Linked DNA regions of Homo sapiens: regions 2 and 3 are each linked to region 1. Evidence: promoter capture Hi-C in human tissues and cell types (Jung and others, 2019). All regions are on one chromosome and are shown on one strand. Each heading gives the region's core, a stretch centred on a gene start or on the middle of the fragment in contact. The rest is flanking DNA. Distances are from core to core; before and after follow the strand shown.

What was found. Contacts are between HindIII fragments. The study calls those that stand out against the background at their distance.
Region 2: a fragment that was not itself captured here is called in contact with the fragment with the promoter of GHRH in region 1 in 2 of the 25 tissues and cell types used here (heart right ventricle and lymphoblastoid cells).
Region 3: a contact is called between a fragment that was not itself captured here and the fragment with the promoter of GHRH in region 1, in 1 of the 25 tissues and cell types used here (mesenchymal stem cells).

Annotation. Positions count from the first base shown.
Region 1 is chr20:37,259,376-37,264,229 of GRCh38, forward strand. It overlaps GHRH (growth hormone releasing hormone), which reads right to left and starts at 2,439. Exons shown (of 5, transcript NM_021081.6): 1 at 2,368-2,439. The HindIII fragment of the contact is 8,848 bases long and covers 245-4,854 here.
Region 2 is chr20:38,242,124-38,246,977 of GRCh38, forward strand. KIAA1755 reads right to left here. Exons shown (of 14, transcript NM_001029864.2): 2 at 3,806-4,003. Among named protein-coding and RNA genes, the nearest start is that of KIAA1755, 16 kb to the right of the region's middle. RefSeq lists an enhancer at 4,319-4,819. The HindIII fragment of the contact is 6,067 bases long and covers 1-4,854 here.
Region 3 is chr20:37,917,024-37,921,877 of GRCh38, forward strand. The region is part of intron 1 of VSTM2L (V-set and transmembrane domain containing 2 like); the gene reads left to right. LOC124904896 (a long non-coding RNA gene) reads right to left here and starts at 1,969. Exons shown (of 3, transcript XR_007067576.1): 1 at 1-1,969. RefSeq lists an enhancer at 204-705. The HindIII fragment of the contact is 6,050 bases long and covers 1-4,854 here.

The DNA of each region.
Region 1 (4,854 bases), core at 1,189-3,688:
AGAAGTGGAATTTCCTAAGCCGAGAGATCTCTGGATGCAAGCAGGGCCCCTTGACAGAAACCACTGCCTTTTCTGTCTCCCAGCTGCAGCCTGGCTTTCTTGCCTTCTTTGCTGCTGATCTTTTAAAGATTCAGGCAGATCTAGGTCCCCAATCACCTCCCTCCCCTGCTCAGAAGCCCTTGGCTCCCCACTCCTTCCAGAATAAAGCTCAAACCCCTTCTCTTGGCTTAAGCTCTCCCTCTGCCTGCCCCTTCTCCCAAGGGCTGGCACAAGTGATTCCCAGCCCCTGTGCCCTATCAGGCTCCACAACCCATCCTTGCACTCTCCCTCTGGAGCAGGCATCCCCATGCTCCTCTTACAGCCAAGGAAAAGAGCCTAGAGAGGACAAGGACATTTTCCATGATCCTCCATCAAATTAGTTTTGGAGTGGGCACTTCAGAGTGGGCCTCCTCATTCCCAGGCCGGCAGACTTCCTTCCGCTCCATGCAGCAGCCTCCCAGGTACAATGCTCTATTCACAGTATTCCCCATTCACAGGGATCCTCAGCCTCCATCACCTGCACGTGGGAAAGGGTCTGAAAAAAAGGAAAGCTTCTTGCTCTTTGTTGTTGGGCCTCTGGGGAAGAAAGAACAGGGACAAACAGGAACACCTGCTTGATTGGCCCCTCCCTATGCACACCCAGTAGTTTCAGGGAGTTGAAACAACCTCATAGGAGGGCAGACTTTGGTGGGGAGGGCAAGTCATAGTAAACACAATACCCCGCTCATTCAAGATAAGGCTCAGCAACTGCACAAGTTAACCAAGAGGCTCAACATTTGCCACAAATCCTGTGCCCCAGGCATAGGTCAAGACCCCACAGCAACCTCTGAGCTATGAGAACCGAATCCATGGGTTTGCAGATCCCACTGGATGAAAATGGGAAACAAGAATTATCCAGTGTAGGGTAAGATAAGAAGAATAGAGGTTATGTCACTAAGGATAAAATAGCTCCAGCCTGAGCAACATGGCGAGACCCCATCTCTACAAAAAAAAAAACACACAAAACAAAACAAAAAAAAACTTATCTAGGCATGGTGGCGCATGCCTGTAGTCCCAGCTACTCTGGAGGCTGATGTGGGAGGATTGCTTGAGCCCGGGAGGTTAAGGCTGCAGTGATCCATGATAGTGCCACTGCACAGTAGCCTAAATGTCAGAGCAAGACCCCATCTCAAAGAATAAAATAAAATAGCTGTCAACAGACACATTCCACATGACAACTTAAGGAGTCAAAATTCACTGAATGAAGTGTAGCCGAGCCCAACAGCATTGCTGGCAACCCTGATGACTGAAGGCACTCCAGAGTTTATAATCTATCATTATGATCATCGGTTAGCTTCCTGCAGTGCTTACTGATTCTGGGATTAGATGTACTTGAGATTGCCTGGATTCAGGATAAACGGGCACTTGATCTACATCCGTTGGCACCTTTTGCCAGCTTTCATGCCAGGAATGCCAGGAGAATTCTGCAGATTCACCTGCAGCTGACAGAGGTCAGGTCTCAAGCACCCAAATTCGCAAGGCCATTTTTGAAAACCCAGGGAAAGAACATCTTTAACCTTCCTTGAATATCCCCCTTTGAAATTTGAGCACCCCAAAGCATAGACTTCCTGATCTGGTTTATAAACTGTTTCAGTGACAGCATTCCAAGTTAAAAGAAATCTAAGTTTTTAATGAGGAAGCATCTTGAACTGTCATTCAAAAGAGTGACACTCCACCTCCTTCCAGAAGGGGTTTGAGGCAGTCTATGGTGAAAGACACAAATACTTCAGGACCATTAAAGCAAGGATCAGGAGACAGGCGTGGGGTAGCGGAGGACTCCAAAGGCAGATAATTGTGTCTAAAACCTGGAGTAAAGAGTGTGGCTGCAATTGAGCAAGAAAGCAAAATGTTATCAATTTCCCGGCAATTACATTGAATCAGTTCTGAGTGATCAATGAGCAGTATTGATTTGCACAGCCACTTGGCTCATCTCTGATCCATGGCAGAATCCCATCGCTGACAGGAAAATCGAGCCAACTCACGTTTGCCCCCGAAGCCTGCCCACGCATCCTCGAAGGAGCACTGAGACCTCACCACCTGCGACAGACACCTGGAGCCAGTCCGCCACGCGCCCAAGTTAAGACAAGCCCCAAACAGCACCATCAAAAGCCTATTCCAGAGCCCCTATTGAGGGGTGATTTTATCCAGAGAGGGGCTCAAATGTACTCACCAGTCCATGGGCAAAGAGGATGGCGGTGGGCCTCTTGGACTCAGTGTTTCTAAGTTGGTGAGAAGGTTAACTTTTCTTACCCCCACCCAGCCTAGCCCCCCCAGGGCCACCCCTCTCACCTGATGCGGCAGATATCCCTCTGCTCCGAGGCACTGCTCAAATCCAGGGGCCCTGGGCTGGGTGTTTGCTCTGGCAGCCGCCTGGCGTTCCCATCATTTATCTCTTCATTTTCCTAAGCGTTGTCAGCGTCAGAGAATCAATTACCCACAAGTCAACCAAAGGACTGTTTTTAGCATCATATCACACTGACAAACCCTGTTGGTGAAAGAGGTTTGGCCCCTTGCAGACTTAGACTCCTGGTAAAGTCTCCTTTTATCTTTGGCACAGTGGACATAGTACAAAGGTGTAACATTATTCCAAGAGGATATAGAGAATATATACTGCTATAATAGTGATTGGAGAACTCGGCTGGGCGCGGTGGCTCACACCTGCCATCCTAGCACTTTGGGAGGCTGAGGCGGGTGGATTGCCTGAGCTCAGAAGTTTGAGACCAACCTGGGCAACATAATGAGACCCTGTCTCTAGAAAAAAATTAAAAATTAGCTGGGCATGTTGGCACATGGGTATAGTCCCAGCTACTCAGGTGGCTGAGGCAAGAGTGTCACCTGAGCCTGGGAGGCGGAGGTTGCAGTGAGCCAAGACCACGCTATGGCACTCCAGCCTGGGTGACAGAGCACGACTCTATCTCAAAATATATATTTTTTAAAAAAAGAAAAAATATGTGTTAAAAATAATTGGAGAACTCATAACAGTGAAACACCAAGAGTTTATTGATTCTCCAAGATAAATGTGCCTTTTCAAAAGTTCATATAATTTAGCTTTGTCCCTGTGTAATTTTATTTCACTTTTGGGTAGACAACATTATGAATAAGCGTTATTCTCTCCTTAGTGGGGAATTTGTTCCCTATCTCCCTTGTCGTCCAATTATCAGAATTCTGCACTATTTGATTTACACCTGCTTGGTCACAGGCTGATTTCAACAGCTAGCCTGGGGGCATCCGTCGTCACCTGTCAAGGCAGCCAGACATTGGCAGTTGCCTCAGAGAAGTGTGAAATGAGAGGGAAGAGATGGAAAACCTTGGGAGAGTTGTTGTGTTTCCAGATTTCTCTAGCCTATAGCTAAGAAATCCTCAGGAATGACATAAAAGCACAGGAGGCAGAAGCTCTGGTTTCCCAGGCGGCCGTCGTGGAGGTGTGGAAAGAGCTCCAAGCCTCGAGTCTAGGGACCTGCTGCCTCTCCCAAGCCTGTCAATCATGACCTCTGTGACCCTTAGGAAGTTACTTCTACCTGGCTGGGTGCAGTGGCTCACACCTGTAATCCCAGCACTTTGGGAGGCTGAGGCGGGTGGATCATGAGGTCAGGGGTTCGAGACCAGCCTGACCAACATGGTGAAACCCCGTCTCTACTAAAAATACAAAAATTAGCTGGGTGTGGTAGTGGGCACCTGTAATCCCAGCTACTCAGGAGGCTGAGGCAGGAGAATTGCTTGAACCCGGGAGGTGGAGGTTGCAGTGAGCCGAGATCGTGCCACTGCACTCCAGCCTGGGCGACAGAGCGAGACTCTGTCTCAAAAAAAGAAAAAAAACTTCTACCCTCCGGGCCTCAGTTTCTACCTGGAAACTTGAGAGTTGACATAGAACAGCAACTTTCAAACTATTTTTTTGAGAGGGATCCTATCTTTGCCACCCAGGTTGGAGTGCAGTGGCATAATCTCGACTCATTGCAACCTCCACCTCCCGGGTTCAAATGATTCTCCTGCCTTAGCCTCCAGAGTAGCTGGGATTACAGGTGCGTACCACCACGCCTGGCTAAGTTTTGTATTTTAGTAGAGATGGGATTTCACCATGTTGGCCAGGTTGGTCTCAAACTTCTGACCTCAGGTGATCCACGTGCTTCTGCCTCCCAAAGCACTGGGATGACAGGTGTGAGCCACCACACCCAGCCCAAACATTTTTTAAAAAGTAGCAAAACTCTTTCTTTGGAAACCTACAGAGACAGGTTTTTAATATGGGGCTACTCTGGTTGAAGAGGGGGAAGTGGAGACCCCCTTGCCTATCCCTGAGGTACCTCGATGGGTCACAATTACAAGCCAGTAATTTCCAAGAGTCCCCTTAGCAACACTATTTTGTGGTTCTCCTTCTTAGCCTGCACTGAGCCATGTTCTTGGCATCTAGCAAATATGAGATGTTTCTCATAGAAGCAAGGCTTGAGTGGTATGTCACCTTGCTGGCCAGGATACGAAGTGGTCAGGTCAGGCCAGATCCCCAAGGATTAAGAATGGGCTGATAGTGGCCAGGTGCGGTGGCTCATGCCTGTAACCCCAGCACTTTGGGAGGCCGAGGCAGGCGGACTGCCTGAGCTCAGGAGTTCGTGACCACTCTGGGCAACATGGTGAAACCCCGTCTCTACTAAAATACAAAAAAATTAGCTGGGTGTAGTGGCATGTGCCTGTAATCCCAGCTACTGGGGAGGCTGAGGCACAAGAATAGCTTAAGCCCCAGAGGCAGAGGTTGGTGTGAGCCGAGATGGCGCCGCTGCACTTCAG
Region 2 (4,854 bases), core at 1,155-3,654, 980 kb after region 1:
GGAAATCCTAGCCTACTGACCCAAGTGAGAAAGCTCAGAGCACCATGCACTAGTTAGCAATCGGCTTTCCCAAGTGGTCCCCTTGCTTGGCTCATGCTCCCTTCCTCTCTGCATCTATCCAGAACATTTCCCAACCCAATTCAAGTCTTAGCCCTCCATTTTAAAGCCAGGGAGACGTGGTTTAGACAAACGTCTATGTTGCTAATTTGTGCAAATTGCTTAACTTCTTTGAGCCCCAATTTCCCTATCTGCAAATAGGATAATAATACATGTCAGTATTACTGGGTTGGTATGAGGATTAAGTGAGATTATACAGATGGCCTCAATTTATGGTGGGGTTATATCCTGGTAAATCCATCATAAATTGAAACTATCATAAGTCAAAAATGCATTTAATGTACCTAATCTACAGAACATCATAGCTTATTTAGACTAGCCTATCTTAAAAGTGCACAGAGCACTTACATCAGCCTACAGTTGGCCAAAATCATCTAACACAATGCCTATTTTATAATAAAGTGTTGAACATCTTATTGAATTTGGATAGTGTATGAGGGTGAAGTAGAAACAGTATTGAATGAGAAGTCAGGAAATCTGACCCTGCCACTAACTTACTAGATGGCTGTCCAGTTTTTCCTGACCCAAAGGTTATTCTGGGCCTGAATGTTTATTTTTTATTTGTTTGTTTATTTATTTCTCATTAAATAAATGAAGGCTTATTTGTTTATTTTTTATTTATTTCCCATTAATGGATAATAACACGAAGGTGAAGCAAAACTTTAAAAAGAAATTTTTTTTTAACAGGAGTTGCCAGAAATTCCCTGTATAGGTGGGTACAGAGGGTCATTCTGGAACAGGCTGTGACCCAAGTGATCCCTCTCAGTTGAGCCTGTCCACTGGGCTGTGCGGGACCAGTGTTCAACAGTGACACCATGTGGCAACAACGGAAACAACAGCTCCACTGGGCTGACAACAGGTCTTTAACTGGCTTTTGGAAAAAGAGTCTGAGTTCTGTGGATTGAGTAAGTCCCAGACAATCTTATATAATTTGGATGTGTGTAGGGGAGATGTACAGAGAGTGAGACTGAATTTCCTGCTAATTAAACAGGTGTTTCCTGGAATTATTGATTGCGGAAATAGTGAGATCTGACCATAGTTATACCTTATGTTGATAAACCCATTTATATCAGTCATATTGTAGATTGGGCTGCCTCAGAGAAGCTTAATATCCATAAACCTTCATGAGTCTGTAGGTTTTCTCGACCCTTTTCACTTAGCCCTCTTGGGTTTGCAACATGCTTTCTCTCTCACCTTCTCATTGAATGAGAAAAAACAGCCCAGCCATTTTTTGCAAACAGCAAAGCACCAGAGTGATGATGGCTTTGCTCATCTCACTTGACTTTCACAGTAACTCAGTTTGATGTAGGCAGTCCAGGCATTATTATTTTCATTTTACAGATGATGCAACTGAGGCTCAGTGTGGTGAAACATTTGGCTCATAGCCACACAGCTGATAAGCATCAGGGACTTGGACCTAGGCCTTCACATTTCAAGTCAGCTGTATCTGTCCCCAAGCCCCACCAGACTTCATGTGAAGGTGGCTGCTTCTGGGTGATGGTGGCTGGAGAGGCAGACTTTGAGGCTGCCATGCTCTTATTTCAGATGGAGAAACAAGGAAGTGGGATAGCGATAGCCAATAGCTACTGGGCACTTGCTGCATGCCAGAGTCTTTGCTAAGCCATGTGTTGTCATCTCCATGTGTTGTCATCTCCATGTGTTAGGTGCTGTGTTATTAACGTTTCTGCTTGACACATAAGGAAACTGAAACTCAGAGAGGTGGCATGGATCTCCAAAGTTCACAGTGATGAGCTTGGATTTGAACCTGGGGCATCTGAACCCAGAAGCCATCCTGTTAATCACACATGACTTCCCATTGCTCTGAGATTGACAGATATTTGCCTATCATTACAATTAGATTAAACTCACCTACAAGGAAAAATAAAGACGCGGAAATGTTGTTACCTTGAGGAAGCGGCCAGTGCAAATGAAGTTTAAATGGCCAAATAAGGGAAGTGGGCAATTGTGTAGCTTGTCAGGGAGAAGAAATAAGGATGGGGGAGCATCTGCATGAAATAGTGTCATGTGGAAGTGGCTGCAAATGCTTCCATGAGAAGCTCCCTTCTTCTCCAATACTAGTTCCCATGTATTGAGCTATGATCTATGAGCCAGGCTCTGTGCTAAGCATGTAAAATAGATTATCTCACTTTCCTTCTGGTTCCTAACCCTGGACTTTTAGCTGCCACGTTCAATTTATTTCTACCACTGGAATGACGCACACAGTCCCCACCCTTCCTTGTTGCTTCTGATGAGCTGTGTCCCTGACAGGCAGTGGGCAACTCAGGACAGGCTGATGGGACCTTAGAACCTCTTTGTGATTCTTGAGGCTGAGGTAGCAGGAGGGTGGATGTTAATAACAACAGAGCAGGGAACAGTAGGGAAACCCATGAAGGGAATGGCAAGTTCCTGTGGTGGGCATTTGACGGCTTGGTCTCCTCAGGCTTCTCTCATCCTTTTCTGTTTTTTGTTTTTTGTTTTTTGTTTTTGAGACAGGGTCTCACTGTGCCACCCAGGCTGGAGTGCAATGGCGTGATCTTGGCTCACTGCAACCTCTGCCTCCTGGGTTCAAGCGATTCTCCTGCCTCCAAGCGATTCTCTTGCCTCAGCCTCCTGAGTAGCTGGGACTACAGGCATGTGCCACCACGCCCGGCTAATTTTTGTATTTTTAGTAGAGACGGGGTTTCACCATGTTGGCCAGGCTGGTCTCAAACCCCTGACGTCATGATCCACCTGCCTTGGCCTCCCAAAGTACTGGGATTACAGGCATGAGCCACCACTGCCGGCCTTCTCATCCTTTTCTTAAAACAGCTCCACCCTCTGACCATAGAGGTAGACACGTGACTCAAGCTTGGCCAATCCTGGTACCCCACTCCTCTGGCCACAGTGATTGGTCCAGGAATGGGCATATGACCCAAGCCTGGCCAATCAGGATCCTTCCTTGAGATTTTTCTATGTGCAGTGGATGGGAAAGAGTTTATTTTCCTCTCTAGGATAGAATATAAATCCTTGAGCTTCCCTGGGTTCCAGCCTTGTGGGAACACTTAGCCTGGAAGAATAATGCCAACAAGCAGCGCAAAGCAGAGACTAGGGACAGAAAGGATCTTCAAGGGATTTGATCAGTGGATCAACTTGGGCCTGAGGCCTGATCCACCCTTCCCTGGTTTGAGTGAGGATTCTGTCATTTGCAGCCAATGAGTCTGGCTAAAACACTTTTCTCTCCACTTTGCCTTGGCAGAGGCCTCCCTGAGATCTGAGTTTGAAGAGGTCACAGGGGAAGAAAGCAAGAGTCCTGATGCCTCAGGGGCTCCAGGGAAGCTCTAGGACCTTCTCTGCTATTTCCACTGAAGCTGCCTCACTTCACCAAAGGCACTTGGCAGTGCCCACAATGTCAGGCGCAGGGCAGGCTCCCCAAGACCAGGGAGCCCCCAAGGATGCCTTTACTCAGGCCTTCTTCTCTGCTGGTGACAGTACAATGTAATGAACTCATAGATGTCACAAGGTAAATCCCCTTCGATCTGGGGGGCTGATGTCTCCCCCTGGGCAAGCAATGATACTTGGAAAGTCCCCCCACACCCTCAGCTCCCCGTGAAACAAGACACAGGCCAGCCCACCTCCTTCTCTGCCCGCCTCTAGCCCCATGACTTTCTGGAACAGCTTGTTCCCTGTCCCTGTTTCCCTCTTGACTTACACAGGCTGCTTCTCGCACTTGCTCACACAGGCGCTTGGCAGGGATCAGGAAATCCAGAAGGAAGCTCAGCCCATCCCCCTGGAAGCCAGAGTCCAGGAGACGGAACACCTGACCCAGGACGGTGGGTGCTGTGGCCTCGAAAGGAGGATAGAGGCCCGCCAGGGCATGCTGGATGGCTGTGTCGAGGGATGGAGGGTCCTGTGGGGGACAGGAGGAGGGGGTGATAATAGCAATGATAATAAGGGCAGAGACCACTTCCCGTGACCTTCCAGGCCCCATATGCCTAAGGCCCCTGCTAATTCTCTGACCTCCTCTCCTACCCCACCCCCCTCACTCATCACTGCCAGCCACACTGGCCTTCTTTCCTGTCCCTCAAACACACTAGGCACAATCTCACCTCGGGGCCTTTGCACTGGCTGTTCCCTCTGCCTAGAATGCTCTTCCTCAAGACAGCCTCATTCCCACACCTCTTGCAGGTCTTTGCTCAAATGTCATCTGCTGATCCACGGAGACGTGGAGGAATAGGGGTGGGGGGTGGGCATTCAGGTCAGGGTCAAAGGGAAAGAGGATTTTGGCATTGCCCCAGTCTGACCGCCTGGCTGGCCTGCAGGCCTGCAGCCTGAAGCTGAGCCACGAGGGAAGCCCAGCCCAGACCAGACAGCCCCACTCCACATGCAGATGGGAGAGTGAGAATAAGTGATTGCTGTTTTGCCACTGAGCTTTGGGGTCATTTTTCACACAGCAATAACTGATACAAGTCCACGGCTGCAGACTGTACAGCCAGCTGCCTCCCATGGACCTCCTAGATGCCTCTCAGCCACCAACCGCCAACATATCAGACCCAACCTGGCAACTTCCCAAACCTGCTCCTCCCCCAGTCCTACCTCGGTGATGACCCCACCGCCCAGTCAGGCTCCTAGGCCAGAAATCTGCTCACAGCACTGCTTCTCCTCCTGCCTCCCAACCCACAATCAGCCCTCAGTGTGTCCCACACCACTTCCCCTCCACCAACAGCTCTCCAGCCAGGTGCTCCGCGCTGTCCCCTGCCC
Region 3 (4,854 bases), core at 886-3,385, 660 kb after region 1:
TTAATTTTGGCCAGGTGCGGTGGCTCACACCTGTAATCCCAGCACTTCTGGAGGCCAAGACGGGCGGATCACGAGGTCAGGAGTTCAAGACCAGCCTGGCTAATGTAGTGAAAGCTTGTCTCTAGTAAAAATACAAAAAAATTAGTCAGGCGTGGTGGAGGCCGCCTGTAATCCCAGCTTCTTGGGAGGCTGAGGCAAGGAGAATTGCTTGAACCTGGGAGGCGGAGGTTGCAGTGAGCAAAGATCATGCCACTGCACTCCAACCTGGGCGACGGTGTGAGACTCTGTCTCAAAAAAGAAAGAAAAAAAGAAAAAAAAAATGTTAGCTATTTAAATTTTTACTAGGCAGGGCGGCCCCTCCTCCATCGGCCAGAGACAGGCAAGGACCCACCTGGGTGAATGTGCTTGTGTCTAAGGCTCAGCAAGGAGTGGGTTCCACCAGGGAACAGCGGTTGTTGTGGACCTTCTGGGTGCTACACACTGAAACAGGCTCTTCACTTGCATTTGCCCATTTAATCCTCAAAATAAGCCTGTAATCAATGACACAGTGGGAAACCAGAGCTCAGAGTAGTGAAGCAGCTTGCACAATGCCACCCAGCACGCCAGGGAGAGCTGTGGCTTGCATCCTCACCGTAAATCCTGGGCTCCCCCTCGCCCTAGTGCCCGACCGTCCCCCTGGCCCCTTCCCCTGTTAGCCACCACACCAGCACTTCCTGTGGGTAGAGCACAGTCTGAGCTCTGCGGAGCCTGGGGTTGCGGAGAAGGAGGCTTTGGACTGGATGGGACAAGAGGCCGTTGATGGCGTGCGGCCCACGCAGGAGAGTAAACAGCTCTCACCAGGGGCAACATTTCTTTGATGTCTCCTATTTCATTCAAAATTTATGACTTCTATATTCTATCCCATAATATATTCATGTTTGTTTTAATACAAAAATAACGTTCTTGTCCCATGTTTCTGGAGTGAAGTCAATGCCTCAGGAAGTTGCTTTCCTGGTTTGAGCAGCACAGACCATAAAGGGGTCATCCATTCATTTCTTTGTTCATTCATTCTCCAAGTATGCAATTCAGGTATTTTCATTCCTTAAGTGGGTGTTAGTTCTCACTACGGGCAAGGATGCTGTCCCAAGAGCCACACTGGAAGAATCGGCAAGATTGGGATAGGGAAGTGGCAGGGAAGCTTTCCAGGTATGTGGCCCAGCAGGAGCAAGGCTTGGAGGTGGGAACTAGTGATGGGTTGTGAGATTGGGCCATGGCCATCGGAAGCCAGGGCTGGTGCTGGGTGCCCGCTGGTGTCCACACTTGAGCAGGACCTGCGTCCCAAGCCCCTTGTGATTAAGAAGAAAGTCTCTGCTGGTGCTTCTCTGACTTTAACACCTAACCTTCGCCAGTCTCCCTTGTTAATGAGAAAAAAACGGAGATTGAGGCTCATAGCCTTCAGCAGGCAAGCTTCTTTGGCTAGAATTTACGAATGCTGTTTGGTTTTCATAGCGTTTATTTTTACAGTTACCCTCTATTTATGGCAAGTGATGCTGATTTTTCATTTATGGCGGTAATAAAAGTCTTCTTTTAACCTGAATTTATTTAAGTAAAAGGGGAAAGATGCTTTGAAAATAAATATTAAGTAAATAATGGTGCATGTGGTACAGGGACCCTGTGGAAATGGTGATGGCAGCTAAAAGGCTGGGCTTGGGAGACCCCTCTCTGGTATGCCCTTTTCTGTTCTGAGTCCCCTCTGACTGTGCAAACCTCAGTCAGCCTTCAGGTCCAAGCAAGTCCCCTTCTCCTGGTAACCTCCCCTGACTCTCCAGGCAGACACGAGCCTATCTTTCTCCTAGGATCTTCTAGAACCTGCACCTCCTTCCATAGCTCCAACATGCAGTTTGCCCTGCATAACCCTGGGCAGCACTATGATTCATGGCCATATGAACAGTGCACATTCTGAACAACTGTACATGGCAGTCCAGGTTCAATCCCAGCCATTGTTCCTATAGCAGTCTCTGGCATGTGTGTCTCTCCTGGGGACTGCAGGCTCCCTGAGGGCAGGGGCCTGATCTGTGGCATCCTGGGAAGCCTGGCACGGGGCCTGGCTTAGGGTAGGGGGTCCATCAGAGCTGATCTCTTCCATTCCTTTTGAGGGAGGACTTAAGCTCCTACTGCACGCTGAGGCAGACACCTCCCACCAAGGCATGCTGCAGTTCCCTAAGCTTTCTTACAAAATGCCTTCTTCTTGGCTTCTTAGGAAGAAAGCCCATCTGCGTTTGTTTGCCTGTCCCAAGGTGAAGCAACCTTCATGAACTCACACCTCCATTCCTCCTGCCGCAGGCACCTGTCAGGGGCCAAGGGCTACCCAGAAAGAAACAAAGAGAACCCTCGGGTGCCTCCCTGGGGAGGAGAGGGCCCTGGACACAGCCAGGCTTCTCTGTTTCTGGAGGGCTTTTCCATCCTGATTATCTGGGTTTTCTTCTTATGGGGATTTTATGTCTCCTGATTTTAGAAGCCAGCTGAGATTTACAGGCGGTTGGGCTGGGACCTCATTAAATCCTCCCTCTCCAGCCCTTTCCCCGGGAGAGCTCTTACTCTGCTTCCCAGCTGGGAGGCAAGGTGGCCACAGGCCTTCCTGAACCTGGAGCACACACACCCTTGTGGCCTTGCCACCCAGCTGAGCTGGGCATAGAGCAGGCTTCCTGGAAATGGCCCCAGAGAATCACACTTTTTCTAGCTGAAAAGGATGGGGCTTAGATAAGATTTAGGCTTCAGTGGGGGAAATTTTGCAGCCAGCTTGAAGTCAGGCTGAACTCTAACTTGTCCCTTGATGCTGTGTGATCTCAGGCACCGACTCTCCCTCTCTGAGCCTTGGCACTTCCTCTGTGAAATGGGGCTGATAATAGTACCATCTCATCAAGTCTGAGAGGATGAAAGGGGTCCTGTGTACAGTGTCTGGCATAGAGGAGGGGCTTCCTTCCTTCAACCCCGGGGCAGGAGACTGGCTCCAATGGCCCCCAGGTTCTCTGAGCTTTGGTTTTCTCACGCTGCTGGAAAAGGGCCAGGTATGGAAGTGGGCAGTGGCTGCAGAGGCTGTCGATGCCCCCTTACTCTGTCTTCATCACTGCAACAACGGAGCCAGCAGAAACAGGGAAGTGTTTGAATTCTAGAGTCCCAAGGTCTGGGTTTGAATCCCAGCTCCTGCTCCTGACTTGCAGTGTGACCTTGTGACACATGTCCCTGAGCCTCAGTTTCCCTGCCTGGAATAAAGGGACAATGATCCCTGCCCAGCAGGATCACTGTGAGCATCATATGGGATCAGGCACATCACCTTCCTGTTGCATCGTGGGCTCCAATCAGAAAGATGATGCCACGGGGCTGCTGGGCTGGCCCGTAGCCAACAAGGGTTGGGGAGCTACTGGCGAAGCAGCCACCCACTCCTGGCACTGTCAGCCTTTATTTATTGCCCTGTTTCATTCTTGGTTGCGTTTCACAAGATGACTTTATGGGCCATCTCAGGGGGAGCCTCCAGCCTGCCTGTCAGTCTGGCTGGGTGGCCCCTCAGCTGGGCCAGGTGGGCCAGGCTGGCCTTGGGCAGCCAGTGGCCACAAGGGCCAGGAGGAGAGGGACAGTGGGGAGGAGGCCGGCCTGCCAAGCCTCACTTAGGACCTCCCTGCTTATGCATGTCCATAGTGTCCACATGTCTGTCCCTATCCCTGCTCCTGTGGGCACAGTCCCCCCAGGAAACTCCAATCTGGCACATAGTAGGCATCCAATAAATGTTGAGTGAATGAATGAACTGGATGAATGAATGAATGATTTCTATGCCTATTGGTTTTTTCCTTAGAACTTCAATCCTCTGGGCTTTTGTCTGACCTTCCTTTCTCCCTTGATTGATTGATTGATTGATTGATTCATTCATTCATTCATTCACTCATGTGTTTAGTACATGCCTAGCCACCTCCTGTGTGCCTGATCTGGGCTGGGCAATGCAGGGTCCCTGACCTGGGAGAGTTCCCAGCTTGCAGGAGACCCAGACACCTGTCATATAACATCTGTCATATAACACACTCCAGATGTCATATAACACACTCAGCATCTGTCATGTAACACACTCCAGGGCAGGGAGAGGCAGCCTCGGAGACCTCTGGGGGCACCAAGCAGGGCTTCCACCCTAGCCTGAGGAGGGAGAGTACCTTTAGGCAGAGGACTACCTGTGAGTCAGGATTCCAGGGACAGTGTGCAGGCTGTGTCCTTAGGGGGACACATGTAAGTGGCCAGGAGGGGCTGCAGTTGGGGTCTGGGCAGAACCAGAGCCTGCAGACTTTGGATGCCGAGCCTGGGAGCCTGATTTTGACCCTGAGGGCTGGTAGTTTCCCAATGAGGCCCAAGTACGGGAGCTTCCTGAAGGCCCCAGGCAGCCCGGAGTAGGGAAAATGGGATCCTTCCCCTGCCTGCCACCAGAGCTGCTAGAGCAGAGTGTTCCCTGAGCATCTACTATGTGCATGGTGTTGCTCTAGCTGCCGGGACATGGCAGTGAACAGACTAGAATCTCCTGCCTTTAACTAGAATCTCCATCTTCAATTCTAGTTGGAGTACAGATGATACACAGAAATAAAATGAGCAAACATGTAATAGGGGAGTGATGAGTGGTAAGGAGAAATATGAGGTAGAGAAAAGGGAACTGAGAGAGGGTGGGGGAGAAGGGAGGGCCTCACTGAGGAGGTGACATTGGAGCCGAGGTTTGAAGGAGTTGAAGATGCGGGGAGGGATATTCTGGGAACAAGTTCAGGGGATTTTTGTTTTCTTTCTCTCTTTCTTTCTTTCTTTTCCTTTTTTTTTTTTTTTTTTTTTTGAGATGGAGTCTTGCTC